Regions from separate parts of the Homo sapiens genome. Here all the other regions are linked to region 2. Evidence: promoter capture Hi-C in 16 types of primary human blood cells and fetal thymus (Javierre and others, 2016). All regions are on one chromosome and are shown on one strand. Each heading gives the region's core, a stretch centred on a gene start or on the middle of the fragment in contact. The rest is flanking DNA. Distances are from core to core; before and after follow the strand shown. Region 1 has its middle 10 kb from the start of GALNT1. Region 2 holds the start of ZNF397 (zinc finger protein 397). Region 3 has its middle 78 kb from the start of MAPRE2. Region 4 has its middle 3.4 kb from the start of INO80C.

Evidence for each region. The method cuts DNA at HindIII sites, captures the fragments that hold promoters and counts their contacts. A CHiCAGO score of 5 or more calls a contact.
Region 1: a fragment that was not itself captured here is called in contact with the fragment with the promoter of ZNF397 in region 2 in 2 of 17 cell types (total B cells and total CD8 T cells); the score reaches 6.2 in total B cells.
Region 3: a contact is called between a fragment that was not itself captured here and the fragment with the promoter of ZNF397 in region 2, in 4 of 17 cell types (activated CD4 T cells, total CD8 T cells, naive CD8 T cells and 1 more). The highest score is 7.2, in activated CD4 T cells.
Region 4: a contact is called between a fragment that was not itself captured here and the fragment with the promoter of ZNF397 in region 2, in 9 of 17 cell types (non-activated CD4 T cells, activated CD4 T cells, naive CD4 T cells and 6 more). The highest score is 11.8, in non-activated CD4 T cells.

What each region holds. Positions count from the first base shown.
Region 1 is chr18:35,569,712-35,573,196 of GRCh38, reverse strand. No RefSeq gene overlaps it. Among named protein-coding and RNA genes, the nearest start is that of GALNT1, 10 kb to the left of the region's middle. The HindIII fragment of the contact is 558 bases long and covers 1,732-2,289 here.
Region 2 is chr18:35,239,743-35,243,069 of GRCh38, reverse strand. It overlaps ZNF397 (zinc finger protein 397), which reads right to left and starts at 2,036. Exons shown (of 4, transcript NM_001135178.3): 1 at 1,961-2,036; 2 at 186-679. The coding sequence starts at 599. RefSeq lists a silencer at 1,855-1,984 and enhancers at 1,774-2,299, 2,245-2,354. The HindIII fragment of the contact is 1,449 bases long and covers 1,454-2,902 here.
Region 3 is chr18:34,961,984-34,965,175 of GRCh38, reverse strand. No RefSeq gene overlaps it. Among named protein-coding and RNA genes, the nearest start is that of MAPRE2, 78 kb to the left of the region's middle. The HindIII fragment of the contact is 153 bases long and covers 1,407-1,559 here.
Region 4 is chr18:35,499,774-35,503,028 of GRCh38, reverse strand. No RefSeq gene overlaps it. Among named protein-coding and RNA genes, the nearest start is that of INO80C, 3.4 kb to the right of the region's middle. The HindIII fragment of the contact is 1,722 bases long and covers 1,056-2,777 here.

The DNA of each region.
Region 1 (3,485 bases), core at 761-3,260, 330 kb before region 2:
ACAAAGGACAGGTTTCTGTGAAATAAAAAACTTAAACTCTCTTCCCCAACACAATCTTTAGAAGTAACTAACCATTTTTGTTAGGTGGTTGCCACTCCTCCCTCTCCTGGTAGATTCCTCCTCTAACTCTAAATAATATAGTCCCCATTCTCAGTTCATCAACTTCAGATAGTATGTTTATCAATTTTTGCTGCCGCACAAACAATCCCCAAATTGTGGCTTACAACAACAAACACTTATTTCAAGCTCATGAGTCACTGTCTGCAGCTATGCTGGACTTAGTCAGGCTTGGCTGTATGCATCTTCTCATTTTGGGACTTAGGCTAAAGAAGTGGCCATTATTTAGGGCATGTTCTTCCCATGGCAGACGGCCACAGCTGAAGAGGAGCAACACAAACACATGATATTTTTGGAAGCCTCTGTTTACAACTGGCCACTGTCACTTCCACCCACATTCCATTGTTGAAAATAATTCACACGGCCAAAGTGAGAGTCAACGGAGTAGGGATGGCACTATATGTGCTCTACCAGGAAGCATGCGAAAAATCACACGACGAAGAGTGTGGATGTATAATTCTTCACAGGAGGGAGCAGAATTGGGATCAATAAGCCAAGCTATCATACACAAATATCTATTGAGTCCCACGTATCGAAGACAAGGAATAGAGCTCATTAACACCACTCCTGTCTCCCTCCTCTTCTCAAAGTGTCTTAGTAGTATTATACATAGTTCTTCTACTGGCTTACTTTGTAACTTTAAATTGATAGGTAAAGTGTTTCCTTGATCATTCAACTTTTGATAGCATCTCTCAAGTCTTCATTATAAAAAATAATGAGGCTACATACACCCTTACATTTTCATACCTCCTTTTCCCTTTCTATCTCACAACTCTTACACCATGGTTTATGACATTTCCATTGTGTTTTAGAACTATTATTATCTTCTATGCCTTGTATATAAGATGATTTAAAAAACTAGAATCCAATAAAGGGCACTTACAATACTGTAATTGCATACATATTATTTTCCATAGAACCAAAAACTTTAGTTGGACTTGCAGAAAAGGAAATGGAACACTTCTCCTAAATATGTGTAGCTACAAGATGAATACTTCAGAAACCAAGATCAAATGGTTTATCATTCATTACACCCCTGTTCAGAATTGTGCTACATTTAATTTGTTTTATATAGACTGATTTTGCTGTAGAGCTTTTTATTTTTCAAGGAATTTCTGTTTGTCTTATTTTATTATCTTGTTAACAGAAAAACAATTACCTTCATTCTATTTGTAAATTCATACGCCTTCTTAAATCATATTTAATTGCTGAAGTGAATTTATTTTCTTATTAAACACATTCATCTCCAAGTCTGACTATGTGCTTAATTCGAAACAATTGCCTTTACTAGGAATTCTTTTTATCGCTATTCTGATTTGTGGCCATTATTTCTTGGATTCCATGTATTCATCTTTTTTGATTTCCATTTTCATTTTCCTAGAGCATATGCTCAAGTGACTTTTTTTTTTCCAGAAAAAGAATTTAATGTTGACTCCTTTCAGTCTGACTTGCAGATTGGTAAACTGGCTGGGCATAGAATTCTATGGCTTATGCCACTTTCTGTTAGCACTTTGAAGCCGTTGTTTCATTGTAGTCCATCTAAACCTGGAAAATCTGAAAGTTGATATGATTCTCATCTCACTGCAAATTAGTTGTTTTTGCTCTCAGAAAGCTTTTAAAAGTTTTCTCTTTAACTTGGTATACTAAAATTTCATAAGGATATTTGAGTTCACAATGAGTCCTTTTAAAAAAGCAGTTACTTAACCCACAGGCATTTTTAATGTCTCATTACATAGTCAGCAGTGTTGAAGACGTGGGTGACATATAAGAGAGCACAATTGTTTCTCAGAGCATTTCAGTCTATAGGAGGACATTTACAGTCCAGCTAAAAAATGATTAAATGGCTGTTATATAATAAATTTTAATAAGGCAAATTGAGTTCAGTTATTCACTTTGTGTCTCATAAGATTGTGTAGAGGCTATTTTTGTACCTTCTGATGAAAATGTTAAATTCTGGAACTTTATGAAGAGGGAACAAAGTCAGCCACTTCTTTGTTTATTTTCTCTTTTTGCTAAAATCTAAAGTTAGTTTTTCTAGTAATTCTTCTCCAAATAAATATTTCAAATTATATTACAATAGGTCATTCATTTAATTAGTGACTACAGAAGTTAAAAATAATTATTTTTATTTCCTCTTTTTGACTTGTAACTAGATCACATTTATAATAAGCTTCTTGCTGGCTAGGTTTTATCTCCTTGAGACTGTTGCTATACTCTTTTTAGGATTATAGAAATTATATCCTGTAACCATGACCATTTTTGTCTGTTTCTTGAGGCTGTACTCCTAGATGTCGTCTAAGGCCAGATTCCCATCATCACAGTGAATAATGACATGAGCTCTTTTCAGAGTAGCAGAGAATGAATGAGATGTGATTGGAAATATAGACCCAGGACAGTTTCCCAAAAAATGAATAAAGTGAGAATACCATCTTCAAATGTCTTTATAATTTCCTTGTCTCCAATAAAAGAAAACAAGGAATATTCTAGAGAAATTGATATTTTAAAGCATAGAAAAAGAGCTTACTTCTTTTATGCTGAAGCCTTGAGATCCCTTAAAATCATATTTCCCAGTCCTTAGTGTGATTCAGAATTCTCCAGAGATGCTTGTTAAAAATATAGTTCTCTGAGCTCCACCCTTAGGAGTATCTTGGGGCAGGTAGAGCTGGCTCTATCCACTCCCATTCCTGGAGACCTTCCAAGAAAGTCTCAGTTTTTTGATAGATCTCGTTCCAGAAATTAAAAACCTAAAGATCTGTATTGCAAAAGGATAACTGCATGCACTTGCCAAACAGTTGCCACCCACCCCACCCTCAAAAGGTGTTGCCGTGTTCAGAAGGCCTTACAATGTTTATATTTCTTTGGGTATCTGTTAGTAACTTAGATAACTAACTGATGTTGACTAAGTTAGATGAGATAGGACATTAAAAATTGTCCTTTGAGAGTTTTCTTTTCTTTTCTTTTTGAGACAGCATTTCGCTCTTGTTGCCCAGGCTGGAGTGCAATGGCACAATCTCGGCTCACTGCAACCTCCTCCTCCCAGGTTCAAGCAATTTTCCTGCCTCAGCCTCCCAAGTAGCTGGGATTACAGGCATGCGCCACCACGCCTGGCTAATTTTTGTATTTTTAGTAGAGACAGAGTTTCACCATGTTGGCCGGGCAGGCCTTGAACTCCTGGCCTCAGGTTATCCACCTGCCTCAGCCTCCAGAAGTACTGGGATTACAGGTATGAGCCACCACACTCCAGCCCCTTCAGGAGTTTTCTTAATGTATCTTCTCAGACAAATGATTGGAAGACAAATCTTAAAGCAGAGGAAGTTGAAATCCTAATAATGGACTTTGTGTGTGTGTGTGTGTGTGTGTGTGTGTGT
Region 2 (3,327 bases), core at 787-3,286:
TGACATCTCCAGGGATGAAGGACAGGGGAAAAAGACCATTCAAGGGTATAGACAAGTATGGCTCTATTAGTCACTTCAGGTTAGGGTTCAGTAGAGACATAAAAATTTTTATCCTACTGTTATGATACCATTACATGCTCCAGGCTGTAAATTCCTTTTCCCACATCACTTTTCTCCGTTCCCACCTGCTGCCCTGGGTCATCAAACTCCCTCTCTAAATCCTCCAACAGGGTCACAGCTTCCTCGCCGCTTTCTGGATTATGTTGCTGAACCCAGATCTGCAGCTCCTCAGGCAGAATGCTCAGGAACTGCTCCAGTACCAGCAGTTCTAAGATCTGCTCCTTTGTGTGCAACTCTGGCATTAGCCACTGATAGCAAAGTTCCTGGAGTCGGCTCAGAGCCTCCCGGGGCCCAGGTGTCTCCTGGTAGCAAAATTTTCTGAATTGCTGACGAAACAATTCTTGGCAGGATTGAGTACTCCCATTCTGCTTAAATTTCTCATCCCAGGAAAAGTTATCTTCTACTTTCACTAGTATTAGTTCTTGTTCCGGAGGATCCTGAGGTATCAGGGTTGAAATCACTCCAGATTCCACAGCCATTCTTGGCTGAAACAGCTTAGCAAAAAGCTCAGTACAACTGGTTCTGTGCTTGCGAAGGAGTGTGAGTAATCTCTTCTTTCCTGAAGGATATAAAAGCAGTTAACTTACAGCAATCAATAAAATCTCTAAGTACTTGTAATAAGAAAGATGAGTAACTTTAGTAATATATTGAAAGGGAGTAGATTTGGGGCTATCACTAAATAAAACAATAATGTGATGATAAACTAAAAATCATTAACCTCAATTAGTGTCTCCCATTATGAAGAATTCCTACCACTAATGTTAGAAAAAACTATTTTAGAAGCCTAAGAATGTGAATGCAACATTAACATCAATCACATAGTGAGAAAATTTCCTTTCCAATTCTTTCAATTCTGATTGTATCAAGGAGAAAAGTCTATCTTTAACATGTATGTATTAATAAAACTTGTAGAACTCTCTTTTAAATAAAATACAGGCTTCAGAATCAGACTTCCAAGAGTAAAAATATTTAGGCAGAATTTAGTAATACTGATTTTAAACATTTATTTTTACTTACTTTCTATCTAAAGCAAGTAATGTTGATTTTCATTTAAGGCAGTAATAACGTTTTTTTAAAAGTTCACATTAAACATGAGTTGATGTAAATATTGGATATTTGTCATTTGATCGCATTTGGTGTTTACCGAATTACTTCAACAAACACTGAGGCACTTACTGAGCATTAAGATTTTTGCTTATGAATAAACGAGTCTACAGAGGAATTGACCAAGAACCAAGACGTATCTGTAAAATGCTTACCATGTGTTCAAAAACATGATAGGTATCACATACACAAAAGCAGCAAAGAGATCCGTATCAGTTCTGAAAAAGCTTAGAATATCCCAAGACTAAAAATGTTCAAAAGCAAAATATGGTAACAAATAGGTATTAAATGTTGTGACACAGACCAAACTTGACCTGCTTTTAGGATGGCGAGATATCGATAGGAATGTATGCCCTTAGTTTGTCAGGACAGATGAGTAAAATTCATTCCTCACACTACGGTTAACGTTAAGAGATGAATTAAAATATTTAGCCTACAAATTTAAGGTTTAACCAGTCCGGCCGCACTAACTAACTAACTAACTAGCCCTTCTATTTTTATATCCTTGGTTAAACCGCAGCATTTACGAAGTCACGGGGTCAGCGGAACTGCGTTTTCCTTTGGAAAGCAGGAGTTTGAGTGCTGGCCTCCTCTGAGTTCCCCAGTCGCTTGGAGACGCCGCGCGGGCCAAAGGGCCGCGACCTGGGGATGGGCAGGCCGAGGAGCGGAGCTCCTCCACTGTCCGGCGCGCGCTCCCAACCCCACCTCCCTCTTCCTAGGGGCCCACGTCCCTCACCGCGAAGCCCAGGAGCGGCCAGGAAATGAGCCACCCACCCCGAGCTGCAAGCCACAAAGACCGGAAGTGCGCGTACGCAGTGTTCCGCTCTCGCGCCCTTCGGGTCCTCCGCCGCCCCGCCCCTTGCTCTGAGGTAGCCAATCAGAGCCGCGGGCTCTACAGTTTCCACCGCCTTCTCCCGGTAGCCGCTAGCCCGGCGGAATCTCCAAGGCCAGGGGAGGGTGCGCTAGGAGTCAGGGGTCCTTGTGAGCGGCGGCACCTGGAGGGTCCCGCATCTCGCCTGGGCCGTTCCCACCCTGGCTTTCTCCTGGCACCACCCATCATTGTTGGTCTCAAGTAATTCCCGAATCTCACTCCCAGTTTTCCATTAAAATATTCAGATTTTCGGCCGGGCGCGGTGGCCGAGGCGGGCGGATCACGAGGTCAGGAGATAGAGACCATCCTGGCTAACACGGTGAAACCCCGTCTCTACTAAAAATACAAAAATTTAGCTGGGCATGTTGGCGGGCGCCTGTAGTTCCAGCTACTCGGGAGGCTGAGGCAGGAGAATGGCGTGAACCCGGGAGGCGGAGCTTGCAGTGAACTGAGATGTGCTGCACTCCAGCCTGGGCGACAGAGCGAGACTCTGTCTCAAAAAAAAAAAAAAAAAAAAAACCTCAGATTTTCCTGTGATTCCAGTTCTTTTCCGACAAAAGTAAATGTAAGGATGAATAGGCTGAACAAAAACTAACAGTCACTTATATTGCTTTTGCCTATGAGTATCACTGGAGCCTTACAACAGTTCTGTGCTGTGGCTATATAATCCCAAATTTACAGCCGTAGACATCGCCCAAAGTCAGGCAACTTGTGACCAGGGACGTCCACGTCCCCATAGTTCAAGGAGACTGGTATCGTAGACTCCTGGAGCCTATCTTAGGGTCTTCCCGTTCTTCAGTGGAAGCTTGCTGGTATTGTCTCACTGTTTAAATTTTTCTTTGGCTATTTAGTCGGTGAAAAATGATGCCTCATGTTTCAACTTTGTGAGCTTAAGATAGTCCCCCTTCATGTTTACTGACCATTTATGGTTCTTCAGAGATGGCTTTTCCCATTTAAAAAATTAAGGGAGTAAGATTTTTCTTTTTTATTTGTGAGAATTTTTTGCTTATTAAGGATAGCAACTCGTTTGTTGCAAATCGTTTCCCATTTATTTGTATTTATTTTTAAAACGTTACATTTTACATGTTTAAATGTTACATATTTTTAAAATGTTATATTAAAAAAGTACACAGGATAATAACAAAGCGATACATACATACATAGAAACAAATTCTCCTTTGTGAGCCAAGACTTAAAACACATATTTGAGAAAAATGTTCGTTAGCATTCAA
Region 3 (3,192 bases), core at 234-2,733, 280 kb after region 2:
AAATCAGGAGAGAGCACTGTGTAGTTAAAGAAAAAGAAATCATCAAAAAGCCCAGAAACAGTCAACTAGTTAAACAGATTGTAGTTCAGTTATGTGATGGATTATTTGGTAGCTGCTGAAAAAAATCAGCAGTTAAATATATTTAGGTATTTACGTTAAAGATACTTAGGGGCATGGAAAAATGATCACTTTAATATATTACGGGACAAAAACAAGATTCCAAGGTTTTGAATCTGATATATGCAGTGTGATGTCATTTGAGTAAAGTAAGTTCCCATATGTTTTCATACATGTAAAAGTAAGTAAATAGATAAAGTTGAATAAAACATTTTAAAATGGTGATATTCCTGATTATAGGGGATTTCTATTTTTTTCTTTTTATACTTTTCCCTTTTTTTTTTTTTTTTTACGGAAGCTTACTGTGTCTCCCAGGCTGGAGTGCAGTGTCACAATCTCACGATCTCGGCTTACCGCAACCCCCACCTCCTGGGTTCAAGCGATTCTCCTGCCTCAGCCTCCCGAGTAGCTGGGACTACAGGCACGCACCATCACGCCCAGATAATTTTTGTATTTTTGTAGAGACAGGGTTTTGCCATGTTGGCCAGGCTGGTCTCGAACTCCTGACCTCAGGTGATCCACCTGCCTTGGCCTCCCAAAGTTTTAGTAGACATTTTTATTGGCTTTTGTGTGTCAAAAATAAATCAGTCTCTCTCTTTGTATATGTAGTTGTGTGTATGTGTGTGTGTGTGTGTGTTTGGCCTGTGGTGCTGACGCCAAACAACTGGGCACCACTGCCTAGCCAAGTTGACTAGTAAAATTAACCATCACACTTTTCAAGCATTCATTTTTACATTCTTTTTTTTTAGTAATAAGAAAATTTTTCAGTTTTCCCTGTTCGGTCCCTATACATTTCATGTACATTTTCACTTTCCTAAAAACGGTTACAATTCAGGTGAACTGAGATGACTTAGATGACCTTAGCAGATGAATATTACAATTTTTACTTAGAGGCCGGGTGCAGTGGCTCACGCCTGTAATCCCAACACTTTGGGAGGCCGAGGCGGGTGAATCGCCTGAGGTCAGGAGTTTGAGACCAGCCTGGCCAACATGGTGAAACTCCATCTCTGCTAAAAATACAAAAATTAGCCGGGAGTGGTGGCAGGTTCCTGTAATCCCAGCTACTCAGGAGGCTGAGGCAGGAGAATCACTTGAATCGGGGAGGCAGAGGTTGCAGTGAGCCAAGATTGCACCATTGCACTCCAGCCTAGGGACAAGAGTGTGACTTCATCTCAAAAAAAAAAAAAAAAAAAGATTTTTTACTTAGAATGCTAGGATAGAATTTCTGTCTCCATTGTAGTGTAGGGGGTGCAGATGGGAAACCTGGAACAGATACCACGAAAGAAGCTTGTCTCAAGAAGGCTGACACAATGGGAGACATAGCAGGGAGATGGAAAGAAACTGCTGTTGTGATAGCCATTAGTTCCTGAATTAAATCAACTCTACCCTCTGTTCTTCCTCTGGATTTTCAGTTACACACATTTTTCTTACATAATCAAGCTTTTCTGTTACCTGCAACCATATTTCAGCTAATACTCAGTATTTTTCAGGTTTTTAACAAATATACATTACTTTTATGCTAACAAAATAATTATTATATTCATTGATTCTAAGACAAACTTTTTTTTACCTTTTAAAATCCTTGAAATTGGCATGTATTATACAATCCATGGCATGTCATAATTTAATAGAACTTTCTTTCATAGGATACATTAAAAAGTAATGTTGCGAGGCACAGAAAGATAAATATTACATGTTCTCACTCATATATAGAAGAAAAAAAGTAGATCTCATGAAGATAGAGAATAGATTGGTGGTTACCAGAGGCCAGGAAGAGTAGGGGAGAGGAGGAAATGAAAAGAAGTTGATTGATGGGTACAGTTTGATAGATTAAATAAGACCTACTGTTTGATAGATGAGTAGGGTGACTATACTTTACAATAATCTATTGTATATTTGAAGATAGTTGAAAGAATAATTTGAATGTTTCTAGCATAGAGAAAAGACAAATATTTAAGATGATGGACATCCCAATTACACTGATTTGATCTTTACAAATTATATGAATGTATTATCACATACTCTGAAATTATATACGTCTATTATGTATAATAATAATACGTTGATTGTCATATTCAATGATGCTTTAGACTTGATGAAAAACAATAATGTTTTAGACTTGATCAAAGTATTTTTTAAGAAAGATGGAATGCCAATGCCCAGGACACCTGGAAGGATATGGCATATACTACTGGCACCATATAGCGACCTGGATGACCCCACATTTCTGGATTGGTCCAAGAAGAAATCAGAAGCTTAGAACTTGGCTTTGCTGTACTGCTAAGGCTAACATAAGCTAGGCTGACACAGAACACTTTATTATTGCTATTAAAATGAGAGCAAATGTTTTCCTTTCAAAGACTGTAGATCACTGCTTGAAATGGCCTAGCAGTACATAATTTTTAGTATCTATTTTCTTTTCAGTTTACTATATTGTTTTATATGACTTTTTGTTTCAAATGGCTTCAAAATCAACTTCCTCAGTCATGCCACTTCAAGCTCTCACATACATGAGCATTAAATAGTAAGATCATATTATGCACATGTGCATATGGTGTTAAAACACTTTTCAATCTATTATATAACTAGATTCTGTAACATTTTTGTGAGTTAGGCACGGTATTATGATCCCTTTAGTATTCAAGAGACTTTCTGTCACAGAGTAGTTGGTGTAGAGACAGGACTTCCAATGGACTGGAAAGAAAGGGCTGATGAATGAAGTTTTATTGCGTGAAGTTATGACCTGTGTCATTAGCAAAGATAGAACACAGTTTTAAAGTTTTTGAACCCTGGTTCAAGGTTATGGTCATCAATTCATGACTGTCTTTCTGTTCACGTACATATTCTGCCATTAAAATATCACTGGAGAACCGAGGCCATTGTGATTCACTAATTTTTAAAAGATCCTATTTATTTTGTGATAACTCATGTTATACCGTAAACACTCAACAATAAACTATTTCAGGAACTAAAATCTTCAATGCTATTATAATTTATTGGATTAATTTCAATTTTAAAATGGTTTGGAATGTGTATCTTTGACCAGAATTGGCTAACTATGTCTATGATAGTCTT
Region 4 (3,255 bases), core at 667-3,166, 260 kb before region 2:
TGACCCACAAGCACTTACCAAACGATATACTTTGGTCTGTGATGGAGAAAACACAGGCTACTTTAGGAAGGTTCCTCAGAGATGGTGTTCCAGGAATGAGTGCTGCTCTCACACTCCTGAGAGGACTGCCACTGGTCTCTGAGGATTCCATCAGCTTCTCACTGCAATGGGTTTGTTTTCAACTGCACGTCCCCAGAGCTCAGAGTAGACAGTGCACACTAAGCTGCCTCTTTCAGTATCTGGGAGTTGGGGGATTTTGAGCATCTTGACTGCAACAGCTTCAAGGTTTCTTCCCTTCATCAAGGAGTCCCATATCAACTGGAACAGCCATTTTTCATACAGTGAGCATGACTAGCACACTTCACACAAGGTGTCAAGAGAAGAGCAGTGTGTCTTCCATGCAATAGCAGCATGATCCCAAATATCTACTGTGTTTGCTGAGATCTTTGAGAGACAGTAAATTCGGCACTCTGTGTCTCAAGTCATACATAGTAGCTTAGCAGGCACATTATTCATTCTTAATCATTGTCTTAACTGGGATCAAGACTCTGGCTGAGGCTGCTTAACTGGTACACCGCAGTCAGGGCATCAATATCCCAGAGAAAGCCCCAGCAGCCTTTGCCAAAGGAAGTGTGGCATTGGTGAGGGAAACAGGAGCTGCAAGTACCAGGAAGGAAGCTGAAGAGGAAGTGCAAGAGAGGGCGCACACTACGGCAGGGGTGAGACACACCCTGCAAGTTTTCAGGAATAACTGAGGAGGGAACTTAGGGCAGCCTTAGGCCCTGTCTCAACACATAAGCTAGCAGAATGTTGAGTCATCAGTATTAATTTATCTTTACCAATGGACAAGGAAACCCATGAGTTACATATGCAGCAAGTATATGGGATCCTGGTATGTGCCAACACTGGTAGTAACTGGCACTACCACGGTGATCATGGGGCAGGTTTCTCAAGCCAATGTCCTCCAGCATTTCTCCCACTCTCCTTGTTGCTGTCATCTGTTGATGCTCTGCCACTCAATCCCTGATGACTCTGGCAACTGCCTATAGGAAGCTTAAGTCCAGCTGAGAAGACAAATATAATATCTTTCCTTCCCTACTAGAAATGTATGTACTGGGCTACATAGAAAGATCCTCCCAAAAAAAAAGAAAAAAAGGTAATCAACAGGGATTAAATAACTGAGAGAGACTGATGGGAATGTGGAACCAGACCAGAGGAGAGGGAACACTGAAAATGTAGCATGTCAGCCAAGATAGGAAGGGTGCGTGGAATTTAGTGAGACCAGAGGAGGGTGGGGTCGGGAGAAAAGCAGCTTCCAGGCAGGAGGAGCAGTGTGTCAAGGCCTGAGGGAGGAGGGGCACAGCTGGTTGTTGGAACTAACAAAAGTGAAAACTGAGCAGGAGTGCAGGGACCTGGGACAGAGGCAAGCTGGAGAGATGGCAGGTCTCTAAGGACCTTTGGAACCACCTCGTGGACAATGGGCTTCATTCTAGGGACCACAGGAAGCCACTGAATGGTTTCAAGCAGGCGGTGTGATCTGAAAAATGCACATTTGTATCTTTAAAGAAATCATCTGGAATCGCATGTTGGAACTGGGTTGCACGGACCAAAGGTGGAGGCAGAAAGAGAACGCATAAGGCCACTTTGCAAGTCCAGAGAGAGATGGTGGCTGGAATACGGTTATGGTGTGGAGTGGAGGAAGGGGAGGAGTCAAGGATGACTCCCAAGTTTTGGTCTGAAGAACTGGTGGCTAATCGTGGCATTTGCTGAGACAGGAAACACTGAAGGAGGAATCTGTTTTAGAGGAGCAGAGAGGATGATGAATTCTGTTTTTGCCATGCGGAGTGAAAGATGCGTGTAAGCATCTGAGTTTATACTAGGGAAAGGAATTTTACGTCCAGGTATGCTTTTTTTTTTTTTTTTTTGAGACGGAGTCTTCCTCTGTCGCCCAGGCTCACTGAAACCTCCACCCTCCGAGTTCAAGTGATTCTTGTGCCTCAGTCTCCCAAGTAGCTGGGGCTACAGGCAGGCCCCACCATGCTTGGCTAATTTTTGTATTTTTTTAGTAGAGACGAGGTTTCACCCATGTTGGCCAGGCTGGACTTGAACTCCTGACCTCAAGTGATCCACTCGCCTCGGCTTCCCAAAGTGTTGGGATTACAGACATGAGCCACCATACCTGGCCTTGGGTATGCATCTTTGGAGAAAGAGCCAGATAAAGGATGCAAATCTGAAAGTGGTCTGCATTTAGGTGGTAACTGAATCCGCAAGAAATGGTGCAATGGCTGGGGAGAGTATCAACTGAGAAGAGCAGAGGGCCTTGGACCAAGCACCAAGGAACTCTCAATATGTAAGGATTCTGTGCAAGAGTCTGGTTTCAAACCTGGCTGATCATTAGAATCACTTGGGAAACTTTTAAAATGTGAATCTACAGGAGCATGTGACTATATATTTTGAAAAACCTGTAGTAGCATTAGAGACCATTTGGTAACAGAAGACTGGCCAGGAAAGAGGAAAACAAAAAGATGGTGATGTTTCAGATACCAAGGGAAGAATTTCAGAAAGAAAGGAATCAGACAAGATCAGGCCTGAATTTAGTAACAGGAAACCAGATGGCGGTGCATCCACTTGTCTGACTCCTTAAAAGTAGGGAGTTGGTGTTTGAACTCAATAAGGGATGACAGGAAGCAGCCCAGCAGGTCCCCCTGTGCTCACGTGCACAGCGTGAGGACAGGGAAAGGGAAGGGGAAGGAAGGTGTGTCAGATGGCAGAAAGCTTTTCATTGGAAGTAGCATCTGAACTGAGGCAAAATGGATGGTAATCAGGCAAGGAGCTAAGCATTCCCAGGAGAGGAAATAATAGAAACAAAAATATGACAAGCTAAGAAAACATATACATTCTAGGAAATAGAGTTAGTCCTTGGCTGGAACACAAGGAATTAAGTGTTGGGAACCAAGCAACAGAATGGGGCACAGCCCAGTTGTTGTTGTTGTTGTTGTTGTTGTCGTTTTGAGGCGGAGTCTTGCTCTGTTGCCAGGCTGGAGTGCAGTGGCACGATCTCTGCTCACTGCAATCTCCCGGGTTCAAGCGATTCTCCTGCCTCAGCCTTCTGAGTAGCTGGGATTACAGGCGCATGCCACCATACTCAGCTAATTTTTGTATTTTTAGTAGAGACGAGGTTTCACCGTGTTGGACAGGATGGCCTTTATCTCCTGACCTTGTGATCTGCCCGCCTCAGCCTCTCAAAGTGTTGGG